Linked DNA regions of Homo sapiens: regions 2 and 3 are each linked to region 1. The links are contacts of gene promoters, found by promoter capture Hi-C in blood cells and fetal thymus (Javierre and others, 2016). All regions are on one chromosome and are shown on one strand. The core of a region is centred on a gene start or on the middle of the fragment in contact, and the rest is flanking DNA. Distances in the headings are between cores, read along the strand shown. Region 1 holds the start of SPAG9 (sperm associated antigen 9). Region 2 overlaps UTP18 (UTP18 small subunit processome component). Region 3 has its middle 34 kb from the start of TOB1-AS1.

Region 1 (2,700 bases), core at 20-2,519:
AATTCTCCCCTTAAACCTATGTTTATCCTGCCTTTCCTCCCCCTTTTCTTAAACGAGTCGGGACGGAGAGCTGAGTCACCTGAGACACAGAGAAGGGACTTTTGAGAGTGTCTTCCGTCCCATTTGCGGACGTTAGATGAGCACACCGGGATCCTTGACTCAGCCCGCTCTAGGCGTGGGCGTTGTGTCATTCCCCACACGTGACACTCTCCCAGGCGGCAGAAACCTCACTTGTCATGGGACTTATTCACTCCAGTGACTCCACCCCTTACCTCCTCTGTTCCCCAACCTCCCACTTACCCTTTCCGCCCCACTTCAAGACTTGAGGAGAGGAGGGTGGCTGGAGCCTGGAAATGTCCCCGTCCCAAGTTGGCCAGAAGTAGCAGACACACTATGTGGGAAAGTGCCACATGTAACGTTCCAGTTTCACCCTTCTCCAGAATGCTATCACCCTTCCTGTTTATTTTTTAATAACTTGAGATATAATTCACACGCCATATGATTCACTCACTTAACGTGTAAAGTTGAATGTCTTTTAGCATATTTAGAGTTGTGTATTCATCACTATAATACATTTTTTAGAACATTTTTATTATCCCAAAACGAAATCCCATACCTATTAGCAGTCACTCCCATTTCCCCTCATCTCACCCTTGCTCTTCCATAGCACAAAACAGTTCTATTCTATTCGAGACCACCTTTCCACTTGGGCAGACCCTGGTTATGGTTTTTTTTCCCTCCCTTTCTGTTTCCAGTTTTTTTCGGAGCCCGGAATTCTCAATCTGGGTAATTGGTTTGAGTCCCGGCTCAGCCCGTTTCCCGTTGTAGCTGCGTGACCTTGAGAGCAACGCCACTTTCCTGGGCCTAGTTTCTTTGTCTGTGAAACGAGGTCCAAATATCTACCTCTTTACGCCTGTTGTGGGGATGAAGTGAGTAGGTGCTTTGTGAGCTTTAAAAAGCCATAGAAATGCCAGCTAAGTTAACTCGTCACTCTTCCCGAACCCCTCCCTTTCCCCTGGGACCCGCCCCGCGAATCCCGCTGTGGATGGATACTTCTCCCCACCCGCCGACCGCAGTCTTTCCCATTGGCGCCCGCACCGTCTTCGCGGCGCCGGGTGTTGACGCCATGGCTTCCTCCGCCAGCGCCCGAAGACGCTTGGCCCCGCCCCCGGCCGCGCCTGGCCTCCCGCGGCGCCCCGCCCATCGGGCCGACGCGGCGCCGGCCCCGCCCCGCGGATGACGTGTGGCGCGCGCGGCCGGGCCGCCCCGGCAGTTGGTGCAGCGGCGGTTGGGGTGAGAGCGCCTACGCCACCCCTCCCCTCCTCCGGCCCCGGCCCCCACCCCGCCGGGCCCAGCCCCAGCCCCGGCCCGGGCTCCAGCCCTAGTACCCGTCCCAGCCCGAGTCGGGTCCGTCCCGTGCGGGCAGGTGCCGCCCCTCTGCCGGCGACGCCCCGGGCCGCCCGCCCGTCCGCTTGCCACCATGGAGCTGGAGGACGGTGTGGTGTATCAGGAGGAGCCCGGCGGCTCCGGGGCCGTGATGTCGGAGCGGGTGTCCGGCCTGGCCGGCTCCATCTACCGCGAGTTCGAGCGGCTTATCGGGCGCTATGACGAGGAGGTGGTCAAAGAGCTGATGCCGCTGGTGGTGGCTGTGCTGGAGAACCTGGACTCGGTGTTCGCGCAGGACCAGGAGCACCAGGTGGAGCTGGAGCTGCTGCGGGACGACAACGAGCAGCTCATCACCCAGTACGAGCGGGAGAAGGCGCTGCGCAAGCACGCTGAGGAGGTGAGGCCGGCGGCAGGGCGGGGGCCGCGGGATCCGTCTCCGGGGGCGGCCGGGGCGGGGTCGCGGCCCGGTCGGGGACTAGAGGCGCGACGGGCCTCCTGGAGGGCGGGCCTGAGGCCGATGCCCCCTGGGACCGATCCCGGCGGCCTCCAGGTACCCCGGGAGCCAGGCCGGCGTTGGAAGCCGAGGCCGGCTACTGAGTGTCCTGGGAAGGGAGCGAGATGGAGGAGGCAGGGCCCGGGGAGGAAGCGGCAGCCTGGCCTGAGGACACCTGGGGTTGGCCAAGGGCGGAGATTGTTGGGTGTCTGGTTGCTTCTTGTTGAGGGAAGTTTCCGACCACCGTGGGATAGTCAGATGGCGGTTCAAAGTTTTACCCTTGGGGAGGGGGACACTTCTGCCCTGGATATGTAACTTCCGCTAGTTCCAGTACCTTTCCAGGGGGTTGCCTTGCTTTGGGAAGTTAGAGATCTCCCTCTTTCGGTCAGTTTCTTCTTGACGTTTTAATCTTGTTGAGAAAGACGTCTTATTTTATGTTCTATGTGCCTTGGTTGACACTTTGTCAACTTTTAGATGTTGTGTGGCAGTACTCAATAAATATATAAACAATTTCGTTGGTATCCCAAACCAAAGCATTCCTCCGTATCAGGTTGTAACCTTGGACAGTTCCCTTCAAAAACCCTCCGTTTATTTATAAAAAGGATTGGGGGGCGGGGTTGGGAAGATGTAGGTGACAGTTGGCAACACTTTTTCCGTCTGAGTTTCCTTCTTAGACTGCTGTTTATACGTGCATTTGGCCACCTGTTAACTCTAGCACCCGAGCAGTGACCTGGGCGCCCTCACCTCGACTCTGTGAACCTTTTGGAGTTCTAGGGTGCAAGTGATAGGTCCTTGGCTTCTTGAGACTGACAAGGAGTTTA
Region 2 (2,700 bases), core at 163-2,662, 150 kb before region 1:
CAGGAGGCAGAGGTTGCAGTGAGCTGAGATTGCGCCACTGCACTCCAGCCTGGGCAACAGAATAAGACTCTGTCTCAAAAAAACACAAACAACAACAACAAAAAAAACTATGTTTAATATATTTAAGAATGAAAGACAAGATTCAAAATTGAGCCAGAAATGTAGAATATTTGAAAAAGAAATTCTAGAGCTGAAAAATACGTAATTAAAAGTAAGCCCCCAATAGGCCAGGCATGGTGGCTCATATCTGTAATTCCAGTACTTTGGGAGGCCGAGGCAAGTGGATCACTTGAGGTCAGGAGTTCGAGACCAGCCTGACCAAAATGGTGAAACCCCGTGTCTACTAAAAATACAAAAATTAGCCAGGCATGGTAGTGCACACCTGTAATCCCAGCTACTTGGGTGGCTGAGGCAGGAGAATCATTTGAACTCAGGAGGCAGAGGTCGCAGTGAGTGGAGGTAGTGCCACTGCACTCCAGCCTACACGACAGAGCAAGACTAACTCAAAAAATAATAACAAATAAAATTAAATTAAGCCTCCAATAGATGTTTTTAACAGTACATCAAAATTAGCTGTAGAGAGAATTTGTGGTCTAGAAAACGAATCAGAAAAATATACCCAGACTGAAGTACAGAAAGAAAAAGGATAAAAAACACTGAATACCAATGTGGGCAACATAATAAGATCCTGTCACTACAAAAAAAAATTTTTTTTTTCATTAGCTGGGCATGGTGGCACATGCCTGTAGTCCTAGCTACTCCAGAGGCTGAGGTGGGAGGATTGCTTGAACCCAGGAGGTCGAGACTACAGTGAGCCAAGATCACGTCACTGCACTCCAGACTGGGCGATAGAGTGAGACCCTGTCTCAAAAAAAAACCAAACCAAAAAATAGGTGGAAGACATTTAATATACGTATTACTAATAATCTAGAAAGGAAGACTGGAACAGAAACAATACTTGAAGACAGGTGAGAATTTCCAAAACTTACAGAAGACATCAAGCCAGTTCAAAAGTACTATGAAGTCTAAGCAAAATACAAAGCAAGCTAAAATGATAGGGAGAGGGGATAAACAAAGAGCAACACAATACAACAATTCATAATATTAATGAATTGCTGTTGATTTTTGGAGCTGTGGTTATGTTCAAAAGGGAGAATTTTCTTATAACGAAACTCAGTAAATATTTACAGATAAAAATAACACACTGGAGATAATCATGAAGCTGAGTGCTAGTCACCATTCTGTCAACAATAAGTATACCTTCAACAAGTCACTATCTCTTTGAACCTCTCTCATGTACAAAATGAATGTGTTAGACAAGCATATCCCATACTGTAGCAGACTAATTGCTGACTTAATCCACTTCCTTTTTCTCCTGTGCACAAAGCCAAACTACACTTCCTAGGATCCTCTCAGCTAGTGTGGCCTTATGACTGAGTTCCAGCCAACAAAATGTAGGCAAAAGTATCCTGTACCATTTCCAGGAAAGGCCAATAAAAATCCCCTCTTTCTCCTCCTATAAGCCAAGTGGATGTCAACATCTTAGGCAACTCTGGAAGAACCAACCTGAAGATGACAGAACTTCTATAAACTTGGGTCCCTAAAGTAAACCATCACCTTCCTACCACCCCAATTTTATGTGCTGAAAAAACCAACTTCAATTGGATTATGCCACTGGGATCTGTGGGATTTTGTTTCAACAGCTAGCATAACCATACCCAAAATTACAGGAATCTAAAATGTTGTGGGGTTCTATAAATGCAGCATTCTGAAATGGATAATAAAATTATGTTTCATCCAGGAGGGCAAACTGGTGATCTAGGGTCTAGAAGTACGCCACCAAAAAAATGGTCAAAATAACGAGGGATGTTTAACATATTAAAAAACAAACATGGAAAGAGGCTTCCCAAATGAGAGAAAAAGAAGATAATCTATATGTTTCAAACCGTAGGAGTAGAGACTTGTTGGGACATACATTTCAAAATAGGAAAAACTGTCTAACAGTTCTTAAAGAAAAGGGAAGAAGGGGAAAAAACAGTTTAGTAAAAAGTACATTATTTAGGCCAGGCACAGTGGCTCATGCCTGTAATCCCAACACTTTGGAAGGCCAAGAGTTCAAGACCAGCCTGGCCAACACGGTGAAACCCCGATTCTACTAAAAATACAAAAATTAGCCAGGTGTAATGGCGCACACCTGTAACCCCAGCTACTCAGGTGGCTGAGACAAAACAATCACTGGAACCCGGGAGGCAGAGGTTGTAGTGAGCTGAGATTGCCCCACTGCACTCCAGCCCTGGGTGACAGAGTGAGATTCTGACACTGACACACACACACACACACACACACACACACAATACATTATTTGATATATTTAAGCAGAGGATAATGTAGAAAAGATTACTGCAGTGGATAAAGTCAGGCCACATCACTAAGATTCCTTCAACCTCTAAAAGCAAATGGCTAGAAACAAAGACGGTCAATTTCTACTTAGTAACAGATTGTCTTTTCTAATAGAATTATATAAAACACTGGCTCTTTGTATGGACTCCCTGCATTTACGTACCATGAGGACTAACAGGGTAGGAAGAAAGGGGACAAAGGAGGTGGTCATAATCAAACTGAAGCTCTACGGACATGAAGGATGCTAAGGAAGGAGCTCCCACATGATGTGAGAGGATATACTCCGGACTCTCAGGATTT
Region 3 (2,700 bases), core at 140-2,639, 220 kb after region 1:
ATTACAAGGCATGAGCCACCACACCCGGCCATGTTCCACCTTCTTTAGAAGGCATTTGCTGGCAAGATACCGCCAGCCTCAGCATGTTTTAAACAGATGAAATTGCCCTGGACTATCAAAAGTTTGCCTGGGATGATAAGCCTGTGACATTGCCCCAGTCTGAGCTATCAAAACAATATTTAATCCTGGATTAAATATTGTTGTTACTGCTATTTATTTTATTCAAAGATTGAAAAATAGCTGTGAGGTGCTGAATTTGATACAGGCAGGAAGTCTTGTTAACTAACCCTTATTCCAAGTTGGCTTAAGCCAAACCTGTGCTGTCCAATATGGTAGCCACTAGCCAGATGTGGCTATTTGAATTTAAATTACTTAAGTTAAAATTCAATACCATGAATTTAGTTCCTTCACTGCAATAGTCATATTTGAAATGCTCAATCGCCACATGTTGTTAGTGGCTACCATATTGGACATGGCAGATATGGGACATTTCCATCGCCACGTAAAGTTTTATTGGAGAGTGTTGGTTTCAACACTTAGCCACATATACAGCAGCAGCTTTATCACATAGAACATTTAGAACCTTATCACCTAGAACATCTATATATGGGCCTTATCTGGGATAGACCTTAGAGAAAAAAAATTCAGAGATACGATCCCTGTCCAAAATGCATCTGCAAATCCAGAATGACACTGACACACAGGATTTAAGAGAGTAGAGGACCAATTTCAGACCAAGCAATGATGGACGTGTAAGGGCAAGAGAGAGACACAAATTCAAAGAGAAGGAAACTGCATGTGCAAAGGCAAGAGATGTGAGGGGCTGGCTGTTTGGGGTTGTCCTGGAGTGCTGTAACAAGGAGATATTTGTACTTTAGGATGGTTACTTTGGAGACAGTGAGAGGGCCATGGGAGACCAGGAGGACCAAGGAATAATCCAGAGGGAAACTGAGTTGTCCTTGAACTAAAGCCTGGGCAGTAGGGGTGGAGAGAAGCAGTCAGATCTGAGAGACCTTGGGTCCAGCCTGGATGGGGTAGGTGGGGAGGAGCATGCACTATACCTGGATGGTTCAAGGAAGAGCTGGGACATCTGGGATCAATTGAATGCTGTGGGCTCTAAATTAAAAAGGCTCCACCAGGAAATACCCCAAATGGCTGGTTTCTAGAAGATCAAGGTTGCCAACGCTGACTCCTTCCAAATCATGAAGTATGAGGTTCTGTGCGACTTCAGCCTTCCCTTTGAGTCAATGAGGCAACAAACCTATTGCTGGAAAATGGCGTCCTCCAGGGAGGGTGTCGTGGGGGGCCCCGGGCTCAGTATAGCACAGAATGCACAGCCCTTGGTTGTCCAAACTCTCCACTTGACTTTATTTATAACCCTAATTACACCCTCCAGGAAGAACAGTTGCTGATCAACCCAGTTACAAATTAAAGTTAATAAAATGAAGACAGCAATGAATGGCTGCTGCCCAAGCTGCCAAGGGCTCCGATCAACCCCAAAAGGAGACTGCGGTGCTCCCAGGACTCCAGCCACCAGTGTCCTCATTCACATGCTTGCCGTGGAACCCCCCCCTCCCCTCCCAGCTCGCCTCCCTCCCCTCAGTGGCTCAGTCCACCTGTTGTCATCTCCCATCAGGGATCATCAGGCTTCAGGTTCTCCAGGTTCAGAAACTCATGCCATACCCAGTTGGTCCCCAACCCAGCCTTCTCCCGCCACTACTGCCTCCCCAAGCGGTCACATCAGTTGTCGGTGCCACTGTGTGAAATGAAGCTGCTGTGAGCAGAGCTGTAAGAATCCAAGGACAGGAAACAGGGCCTTCACCTCTTTACTCCTCTCCAGCTCTCTTTTTTCTCTTTGCAGCTCCCTTTCTTATTCATTTCCTGTTATCTTTTTCTCTACCCATCTCCCTCACCCTGTGGCTGACCTTGTCCACATGCCCTGAATGTCCTGAGAGGGGCCCTGAATTCCACCGGTGTCCCAGATGGTCGAGCGGCACTGGCTGCTTCGTTCAGAAGCACGGGCAGCTTCAACGCAGCCTCCAGATTCTGCTGACCCTGTCCATTCCTTTTTCTTTCTAAAGAGAGGAAACTGGAGAGGGAGAGTGGGGGACAATCCTCTCCTCACAGGCCCTGCTCTCTGTGTACTTGGCCCCTCGCTCTACCTCCCTCCGTCTCCTGCAGCTTGCCTCCTGCAGAAACAATTACAGATAGTCAATCTTCATGCCTTGCAATCCACAGCACACCCAGATGAACTGATGCGGGTTATCTGGGAGGATGGAAAAGGATGTGATGACTGGGCCACTTCTCTGCAGCATGTAGAAACCAGTGCACTGGTTAGAGGGCTACTTCTGACCCTCTTTGCCAGCCCCTATAACCCGAGTACCATGCGCATACCAGCCATCAGAGAAAACAGCGAGTTCCCTGGGGTTTAGGATAATCATCCCTGGATATTCTGGCTTGTTCTTGTCTCATATCTGCCCAGCTTTAAACTCTTGGTTCTTGGTTGAGCACGGTGGCTCATGCCTCTGATCCCAGCACTCTGGGAGGCGGAGCTGGGAGGATCGCTTGAGCCCAGGAATTCAAGACCAGCCTGGGCAACGTAGGGAGACTCTGTCTCTACAAAAAAATTTAAAAACTAGCTGAGTGTGGTGGTGCACACCTGTAGTCCCAGCTACTTAGGAGGCTGAGGTGGGAAGATCG

The links. Contacts are between HindIII fragments. The CHiCAGO score rates a contact against its expected background, and 5 or more counts as called.
Region 2: a contact is called between a fragment that was not itself captured here and the fragment with the promoter of SPAG9 in region 1, in 1 of 17 cell types (erythroblasts). The highest score is 5.7, in erythroblasts.
Region 3: a fragment that was not itself captured here is called in contact with the fragment with the promoter of SPAG9 in region 1 in 3 of 17 cell types (naive CD8 T cells, neutrophils and M0 macrophages); the score reaches 6.6 in naive CD8 T cells.

The regions. Positions count from the first base shown.
Region 1 is chr17:51,119,437-51,122,136 of GRCh38, reverse strand. It overlaps SPAG9 (sperm associated antigen 9), which reads left to right and starts at 1,269. Exons shown (of 30, transcript NM_001130528.3): 1 at 1,269-1,783. The coding sequence starts at 1,481. RefSeq lists enhancers at 1-177, 787-1,016, 533-1,347, 1,637-1,756 and silencers at 1,157-1,536, 1,787-1,866, 1,887-2,016. The HindIII fragment of the contact is 3,961 bases long and covers 1-2,700 here.
Region 2 is chr17:51,269,493-51,272,192 of GRCh38, reverse strand. All of the region lies in intron 4 of UTP18 (UTP18 small subunit processome component), which reads right to left. Among named protein-coding and RNA genes, the nearest start is that of UTP18, 10 kb to the right of the region's middle. The HindIII fragment of the contact is 4,003 bases long and covers 1-2,700 here.
Region 3 is chr17:50,899,606-50,902,305 of GRCh38, reverse strand. No RefSeq gene overlaps it. Among named protein-coding and RNA genes, the nearest start is that of TOB1-AS1, 34 kb to the right of the region's middle. The HindIII fragment of the contact is 4,004 bases long and covers 1-2,700 here.